Regions from separate parts of the Homo sapiens genome. Here region 1 is linked to region 2. Evidence: promoter capture Hi-C in 16 types of primary human blood cells and fetal thymus (Javierre and others, 2016). All regions are on one chromosome and are shown on one strand. The core of a region is centred on a gene start or on the middle of the fragment in contact, and the rest is flanking DNA. Distances in the headings are between cores, read along the strand shown. Region 1 overlaps LRRFIP2 (LRR binding FLII interacting protein 2). Region 2 holds the start of TRANK1 (tetratricopeptide repeat and ankyrin repeat containing 1).

Region 1 (4,326 bases), core at 455-2,954, 220 kb after region 2:
TAGAAAAGTTAACTCAGGGGTCAGGCATGGTGGCTAACGCCTATAATCCCAGCACTTTGGGAGGCCAAGGCAGGCGGATCACCTGAGGTCAAGAGTTCAAGACCAGCCTGACCAGTGAAACCCTGTCTCTACTAAAAATACAAAAATTAGCTGGGCGTGGTGGCAGGTGCCTGTAATCCCATCTACTCGGGAGGCTGAGGCCAGAGAATTGCTCGAACCCAGGAGGTGGTGGAGGTTGCAGTGAGCCCGAGATTACACCATTGCACTCTAGCCCGGGCAACAAGAGAGAAACTCTGTCACAAAAAAAAGAAAAGAAAAGAAAAGAAAAGAGAAAGAAAGAGAAAGAAAGAAAGAAAGAAAGAAAGAAAGAAAGAAAGAAAGAAAGAAAGAAAGAAAGAAAGAGAAAGAAAGAAAGAAGAAAAAACTCAAAATGGATCAAAGACCTAAACAAATGAGCTAAAACCATAAAACTCGTAGGAGAAAATATATGGGAAAAACTTCATGATATTGAATTTGGCAATGATTTCTTGGACATAATACCAAAAGCAGAAGCAACAAAAGAAAAGGTAAGTTGGATTTCATCAAAATTAAAAACTCTGGGCAGGGCGCGGTGGCTCACATCTGGAATCCCAGCACTTTGGAAGGCAGGCAGATCACGAGGTCAGGAGTTCAAGGCCAGCCTGGCCAACATGGTGAAAACCCGTCTCTACTAAAAATACAAAAATTAGCCAGGCATGGTGGCGCATGCCTGTAATCCCAGCTATTCAGGAGACTGAGGCAGGAGAATAGCTTGAACCCAGGAGGCGGAGGTTGCAGTGAGCCGAGATTGGGCCACTGCACTCCAGCCTGGGCAGAGCAAGACTCCATCTTAAAATAACATAACATAAAATAAAATAAAATAAAATAAAAACAAAACTGTGTACATCAAAGCACACTATCAAAAAGTAAAAAGGCAAACCACGGAATAAAAAAAAATTTGCAAATCACATAGCTGATAAAGGATTGATATAAAGAACTCCTACAACTAAGCAACAACAAAAACCCAATTAAAAAGATAAAAGACATAAGTAGACATTTCTTCAAAGAAGATACAAAAATGGTCACATGAAAAGATGCTCAGCCGGGCATGATGGCTCAACATACGTAATCCCAGCACTTTGGGAGGCTGAGGCAGGAGTATTGCTCGAGCCCAGGAGTTGGAGACCAGCCTGGACGTTGCTTGAACCCAGAGTTGGAGACCAGCCTGGGCAACATGTCTCTACAAAATATAAAAAAAAAGAGGCAAGGCACAGTGGCTCATGCCTGTAATCCCAGCACTTTGGGAGGCTGAGGTGGGCGGATCACCTGAGGTTGGGAGTTCGAGACCAGCCTGGTCAACATGGAGAAACCCCATCTCTACTGTAAATACAAAATTAGCTGGACATGGTGGCGCATGCCTGTAATCCCAGCTACTTGGGAGGCTGAGGCAGAATCGCTTCAACCTGGGAGGCAGAGGTTGCAGTGAGCAGAGATAGCGCCATTGCACTCCAGCCTGGGCAACAAGGGCGAAACTCTGTCTCAAAAAAAAAAGAAACAGAAGGAGAAAAGAAAATCAGCTGAACATGGTGGTACATGCCTGTGGTCCCAGCTACTGGAGAGGCTGAGGTGGGAGGATCATTTTAGCCCAGGAGGTCGAGGCTGCAGTGAGGCATGATTGTGACACTACACTCCAGCCTGGGTGCCAAAGCAAAATCTTGTCTCCAAAAAAAAAAAAAAAAGAAAGAAAGAAAGAAAAGAAGAGAAAAAGAAAAGATGCACAATGTCACCCATCACCAGGGAAATACAAATCAAAACCACAGTGAAATACCACCCTATTAGAGATTTTATTTTAAAAATAATCGATTTTTTTGTGTTAGAAAACAGGGCCAGGCACAAGCAGGCCGGGTGCAGTGGCTCACGCCTGTAATCCCAGCACTTTGGGAGGCCGAGGCGGGCAGATCACAAAGTCAGGAGTTCGAGACCAGCCTGGCCAATAGGGCGAAACCCCGTCTCTACTGAAAATACGAAAATTAGCCGGGCGTGGTGGCGGGTGCCCATAGTCCCAGCTACTTGGGAGGCTAAGGCAGGAGAATCGCTTAAACCCAGGAGGGAGAGGTTGCAGTGAGCCGAGATCGCGCCACTGCACTCTAGCCTAGGCAACAGAGCAACACTCTGTCTCAAAAAAAAAAAAAAGAAAGAAAGAAAAAAGAAAAAAAAAAGAAAACGGGACCAGGAACAATGGCTCACACCTGTAATCCCAGCACTTTGGGAGGCCAAGGCTGGCGGAGCTCAGGAGTTTGAGACCCTCCTGGGCTAATGGAGAGACCTCATCTCTACAAAATATACAAAAATTAGCCAGGCATGGCAGTGCACACCTGTACTCCCAGCTACTCGAGAGACTGAGGTGGGAAGGAACACTTAAGCCCGGGAGGTCAAGGCTACAGTGAGCTGTGGTCGGGCCATTGCATTCCAGTCTTGGTGACAGAGTGAGACCCTGGCTCAACATAAATAAAAATCAATCAATAAGAAAACAGAAAATAGTAAATGTTGGCAAGGATGTGGAGAAACTGGAACCCTTGTGCATTGCTGGTGGTAATGTAAAATGGTATAGCCACTGTGGAAAATAGTATGGTGGTTTCTCAAAATATTAAGCATAGAATTACCAAATGAAATTTGGTAATTATCAAATTACTAGCAATTCCACTTCTGGGTACATACACAAAAGAATTGAATGTGGCACTCAAACAGACATTTGCATACTCATATTCATGGTGGCACTATTCCCAAAAGCAGAAAGATGGAAACAACCCATCTATCAAAAGATGATTAAACAATATGGTATAAACATACGAAGGAATATTTTTCAGCCTTAAAACAAATGAAATTCTGATACATGCTATGACATGGATGAATCTTGAAGACATCATGCTAAGAGAAATGAGCCAGACACAAAGACAAATATTACATAATTCCATTTATACGAGGTACCTGGAGTACACAAATTCATAGAGTCAAAAAGTAGAACAATGGTTACCAAGGGCTATGGGCATGAGGTGATATTGTTTAATGGGCAGAGCTTGTTTAGGATGATGAAAAAGTTAGGGAGATGGATAGAGGTGATAGTTACACAATAATGTAAATGTACTTTATACCACCGAATTGTACACTTAAAAATGGTTTAAATGATAAATTTTAAGTTATGTACACAGTCATGTGCTGCATAAGGATGTTCCAGTCAACAATGGATTACACATATTACAGTGGTCCCATAAGATTATAATGGAGCTGTCCTATACACGTGTGCCCTTTTAAGAGATGGGGCCTCACTATGTTGCCCAGGCTGGAACGCAGTGCCTATTCATAGATGTGCTCATAGCACACTACAGCCTAGAACTCCTGATCTCAAGTGATCCTCCTACCTCAGCCTGAGTACCTGGAATTACAGGTGCACACCACCATGCCTGGCCTATTTTCTAATCTTTTATATCATATTTTAACTGTATCTTTTCTATGTTTAGATACACGAAAATTTACCACTGTGTTATAATTGTCTACAGTTATAGTATTCAGTACAGTGACATGCTGCACAAGTTTATGGCCCAGGAACCACAGACTATACCATATAGTCTAGGTGTGTAGTAGGCTATACTGTCCAGGTTAGTGTAAGTATACTCTATGATGTTTGCTTGACAAAATTACCTAATGATGCATTTCCCAGAACATATTCCTGTCATTAAGCAACAAATGACTGTATTTTACCATAATAAAAATATTTTTAAAAAAGGTCAACAGAGTAAATTTTATGTTATCTATATTGTACCACAATTTTAAAAACAAAACAAACTTTATTTGATTGCAAAGGATGAATCTGGCAAGACAAGAACAATGCCCTCTCATTTCCTTGACTGTTCACCTAGATACAGCATTATCTGTGACAAGGGAAAAAACATCTAATCTAAAGCTGAATTTTTTTCTACATTTAGTCCTATAATCCTTAGGTCACTTAACTGGGATACTCACTTTTTAAAAAAAGCAATGCTATATATTCAGTTTGTTCATGATTTAAGCCATTTAACAGGGAAATAAATATTTTAACATCCTAATCCTCTGCATACAGTACGGTATACTCTAACTTACAAAACAGAAAGCCAAAAGATTTCTTCTAGCTGTTAATATATTTCTACTTAGGAAAGTGGGCATGTAAGGAACAACATGCTCAGAACAGTAACATAAAAATTAAATTTGCTTCCCTAAAGCAGTAAAGATATCTGTTATATCAAAAGTAGTTAAAATGTGGTAATGAAGGAA
Region 2 (4,292 bases), core at 477-2,976:
ACACACATATTATGCATATATACATTATATACATATAGGTGGGTGGGTGTGGGTCTTGATCGAAAAAAGACCTAGAAACCCATACATAGGCCAGTGGCAGTGGGATGCGACTCTGGGAGTGAATGCCACACACACCTATCCCACCTCTACCCACCCCCCCACCCCCCGCAGAGGATGCAAAAGCCAACAAAGAGCATATGAACTCAAGCACCTATCCTGCAATCCTACAAAACAGACCTGCCTGGAAAACAGTTGAAACAAACTCCTGACCACCGTCCCCGCCCTCCAACACACACACACCGTAGTACTTTTTTTTTTTTTCTATAAAGGACCAAACAGGATGCCATCCGGATAACAGCCTTATATCAAAAAGGATCCTGGAACCCAAAACGCTCAGCACGAGGGAGCAGGAGCGCATACCTACGCTGGGAACACAAGGCTTTAATCCCAGCTATTCCTTCCCGCATAAGGACTAACTGAGCCAGCAGCAACTGGGTTGGAGCAGATAGGGGAACTAGAGACCTCAGAGCCCCATTCTCTTTCTGCTTCTTAAATTTTTTTTTCTTTTATTTTCCAAATTGCACACTTCCATAAAAATTTTCCTAGGAAGCACCAAAGCTTTCAACTGCCCAGAAACACCCCGATCTGGGAGAAAAGGTGGCTTGAGCTGCACCTCAAAGATGGGCTCTATCTCAGCCGGGTTGCAAGTGCACAGGGCTCCCCGCGGGACGGAGACAGGGAGTTGGGAGGAAACGCAACGCGCCTCCCAGGCAACAGACTCCGAGCTCCGGTTCGGAAACGCTCCGAGGCAGAAGCAAGGGCTTCTAAGGGCTCCGCTTCCCAGCCTTGGGTCCCTACTACTACCTTCCCCCTAGACTCGGTGAGCCCAGGCTGATGGACCGTGCAGTCCAGTTTGAGCCAGCCCAGCAGCCCTCAATCGGGCGGGCAGGGAAGAAGGCCTCCTACTGCCGGGAAGAGGCCAGCGCGCTCCAAGTTCCCCGCAAATTCCGCCCTTCCCGCCTGGCACGGTTCCCTTGCACCGCTGTGCTCCGCTCCCAGGTTTCTGCCCGCCAAGAATGCTTGCCCCGGGGGCGCGCTCGCTGGTCAGGAACCTGTCGGCAGCCCCCGGGAACCCCTGAGGATGCGGAGGTGGGCCCGAGAGCTGCGGCTTCGATGCCGGGGTGGGAGCTAGGCAGGCCGCGCGCCGCCGCAGTCCTGTCGCAGCGCGTGCCCTGGTCCCTCCGGACCGAAAAGGCCGAAGCCGTCCCCCGCGACCGACCCCGCGCAACTGGCTCGGGTCTGCACCTAGATGGCTGTGGGCCCCACAGGGATGGCCGGGCGGGCCCGTTCGGCCGCTACCTCAGGGTCGCCAGTCCCCGCGCGCGGCCGCCTCCCGCCAGGAAGGGTGGCGGGCCCGGAAGGCCAGAGATGCCCCAGTGCTTCCCGCGCCGCTACGCACCTAGCTGCCCGCGGGTCCCACATGGCTGCGGCCGGAGGGTCCGCACCAGGACCGCCGCCGCCTGGGGAAGCGCTTCCCTGTGGGCAGGGCGCGGCGGGCAGTGCGGAAGCCCGAAAGCTACCGGAGCCCGGGGCAGGGGCGGCGCGATGCAGAGGCGGCGTTCGGGGGCCCCCAGCTGCCTGCGGCTCGGCTACCCAGCCGCGATCAGAGGGGGCGGGGGACGCAGGAACCCCGGCGTCCGGGCGGTGTGCAGCCGCAGACCTATTCCAAGTTTCCACGTAGTTGCGAGAGCCCAAAAACTGTCACGTGCACGTCGCTGCTGAGTGGGAGGAGGTGTTTGTCATCGCGTTCAAAAGGGGCGTTTCGGTGTCTCCCGTCATGCAAGCAAATGGTATGGCTCTCGGCCGCCTTTGAATAAACGAGTGCTTCGAACCCTTTACCAGGAGGGACTAGGCGCACAACCACCTCCGACACTCCTCGGGCATGCGAGAATTCGGCTTTCCTTAGTGGGGCCCATCAATGTTGTCCGGGAGGTAAAGAAAGTGATCGGCCAACGGCCTCAGCGTGGGTTTTCTCCTTCCCTCGTTCCTCCCTCCAACAAAGGACGTACGGAGAACAAGCCCCCTAGCTCCTACAGATGAGGAGCTCAGGAGTCGGGCGAATATCAAGTACTTACTGTGTGCTTGCCCCTCCACTCTGGGGAGGCTGGGGGTCCGGGAGTGAAGGGGGCAGCGAGACCGCGGGCTGCTCCACGCTCACCGTCGTGTCCATGGAGAGTAAGTGCGCACAGGCCTGAGCAGGCAACAAAATGAGGATCTTGCCTTGTCTTTCCACCTCCCCAGTGATGATCGACAGAGTAGTGGGTCGGAGAGGACCACCTCTGGCTGCTACCTCCCCAGCGGTTCTCGGCCTAGGGAGCCGGTTTGGTCTTCACAGCTTCTCTGGGCCTGGGAGTACTTTCCTACACACCAGAGAATCCACCCAATCAGAGAGCTAAGCCCGCCGCCCTCCCCTGGGGCAAGGTTCGGCCTACACTGCATCCCGGTGGTTCGCCCATCCTTCTGGGGGACCACCACACCAGGCTGCCTGGTGGCAGGGAGGACACCACCAGAGCTTTAGTGAGGGGGACCACACATTTCAGCGAAACAGAGAGGCTTTGGTAACACGTGGACACACCTAAGGCACACAGTATACTTCTCTCCACTGGTCATTCTGCGTTGTGAACTAGTCTCAGTCTAGCTAGTGGTCTCCTTGCTTCTAGAATCTCACAGAGATTTCTGTGCATTGATCTTCCCCAAACATCAGGATGAATCACGTACAGTTCAAAAGCCATCAGTGGCACTCCATTGTCTCCTAGAGATCAGGTTAGGTACCCGGGCATTTGAGATTCTTCTTCACAATCTTGCCCCACATTTCCAATCTTAGCTTCCTCATGCAAACTCTATACTGCAGTGCTTCCCAACCTTAGTTACACAATAGAATCACCTGGGGAGCTTAAAAACAAAAACAAGGCCGGGCGGGTGGCTCACACCCGTAATCCCAGCACTTTGGAAGCCTGAGGCAGGCGGATCACCTGAGGTCGGGAGTTTGAGACCAGCCAGACCAACATGGAGAAACCCCATCTCTACTAAAAATACAAAAAAAAAAAAAAAAACCCAAAAATATGCGTATGTTTGGCTTTTACTCCCAAATTGTCTAATTGACATGGGCGTCAGGAATTTTTGTTTTTGTTTTTGTTTTGAGACAGTCTCACTCTGTTGTTCAGGTGATTCTCCTGCCTCAGCCTCCTGAGTAACTGGGATTACAGGTGCCCGCCGCCTTGCCCGGCTGAATTTTTTAGATTTTTAGTAGAGGCGGGGTTTCACCATGTTAGACAGGCTGGTCTCAAACCCATGACCTCAAGTGATCCACCCACTTAGGCTTCCCCAAGTGCTGGAATTATAGGTGCAAGCCACCACACCCAGCCACATCAGGATTTTTAAAAGACTATAACATGCTGCAAAGTTTGAGAATCACTGCTAGCCACCAAATAGTTGGACTACTTGCTATTTCCCAGACATCATTGGTCCTTTCACTTTTAGGATACTTTCCATATCCTTCCTCCAATACTTTTCCCAACATCCCCCAATTCTATATTTAGGAAAGCACATGCCACCTCTTCTAGCATACCTCTTTCTGTTGGTGATTTTTGGGTTTGTTCAGTTTGGGTTTTGGTTTGGTTTGGTTTTGGTTTGGGGTTTTTTGGTTGCGGGGTATTTTTTGGTTTCGGAGATATTTTTGGTTTTGGGGTTTTTTGTTTTTCTTTTTGTTTTGGGGGGTTATTTTGTTTTGTTGTTGTTGTTGTTGTTATTTTTGCCAACTTCAAGGAGTCTACTTCCAGAAAGCCTAGCCAGGTTCTTACATCAAAGAGAGCAAGCCAAGGGATTGGTGAAGAGAGGAGGATTTAAAAAAACCAAAAAGTCCGTTTACACTTTGACCACTCTTTCACTAGTTTTCATAAGCATCTCAAAATCTTGTTGTCATACATCTTCTTTGGATATCTTCACCATAATCCTCAAAAGTCACGTCAGTATGTTATCTTTCTTTTTAAAACTGTTTCTTCTCTGTCTTCTATTTTTATATTTTTATCAGTTATACATTCACAGTTAAAAGAGCAGGCCTCAGCCAGGCGTGGTGGCTCATGCCTGTAATCCCAGTATTTTGGGAGTCCCAGGTAAGCAGATCCCCTGAGTCAGGAGTTCAAGACCAGCCTGACCACCATGGTAAAACCCCATTTCTACTAAAAATACAAAAATTAGCTGGGCATGGTGGCGCATGCCTGTAATCCCAGCTA

Evidence for each region. Contacts are between HindIII fragments. The CHiCAGO score rates a contact against its expected background, and 5 or more counts as called.
Region 1: a fragment that was not itself captured here is called in contact with the fragment with the promoter of TRANK1 in region 2 in 1 of 17 cell types (neutrophils); the score reaches 6.7 in neutrophils.

The regions. Positions count from the first base shown.
Region 1 is chr3:37,165,457-37,169,782 of GRCh38, forward strand. All of the region lies in intron 1 of LRRFIP2 (LRR binding FLII interacting protein 2), which reads right to left. Among named protein-coding and RNA genes, the nearest start is that of LRRFIP2, 7.0 kb to the right of the region's middle. The HindIII fragment of the contact is 8,372 bases long and covers 1-4,326 here.
Region 2 is chr3:36,943,328-36,947,619 of GRCh38, forward strand. It overlaps TRANK1 (tetratricopeptide repeat and ankyrin repeat containing 1), which reads right to left and starts at 1,727. Exons shown (of 24, transcript NM_001329998.2): 1 at 1,460-1,727. The coding sequence starts at 1,482. RefSeq lists a silencer at 1,375-1,594 and an enhancer at 1,825-1,894. The HindIII fragment of the contact is 7,723 bases long and covers 617-4,292 here.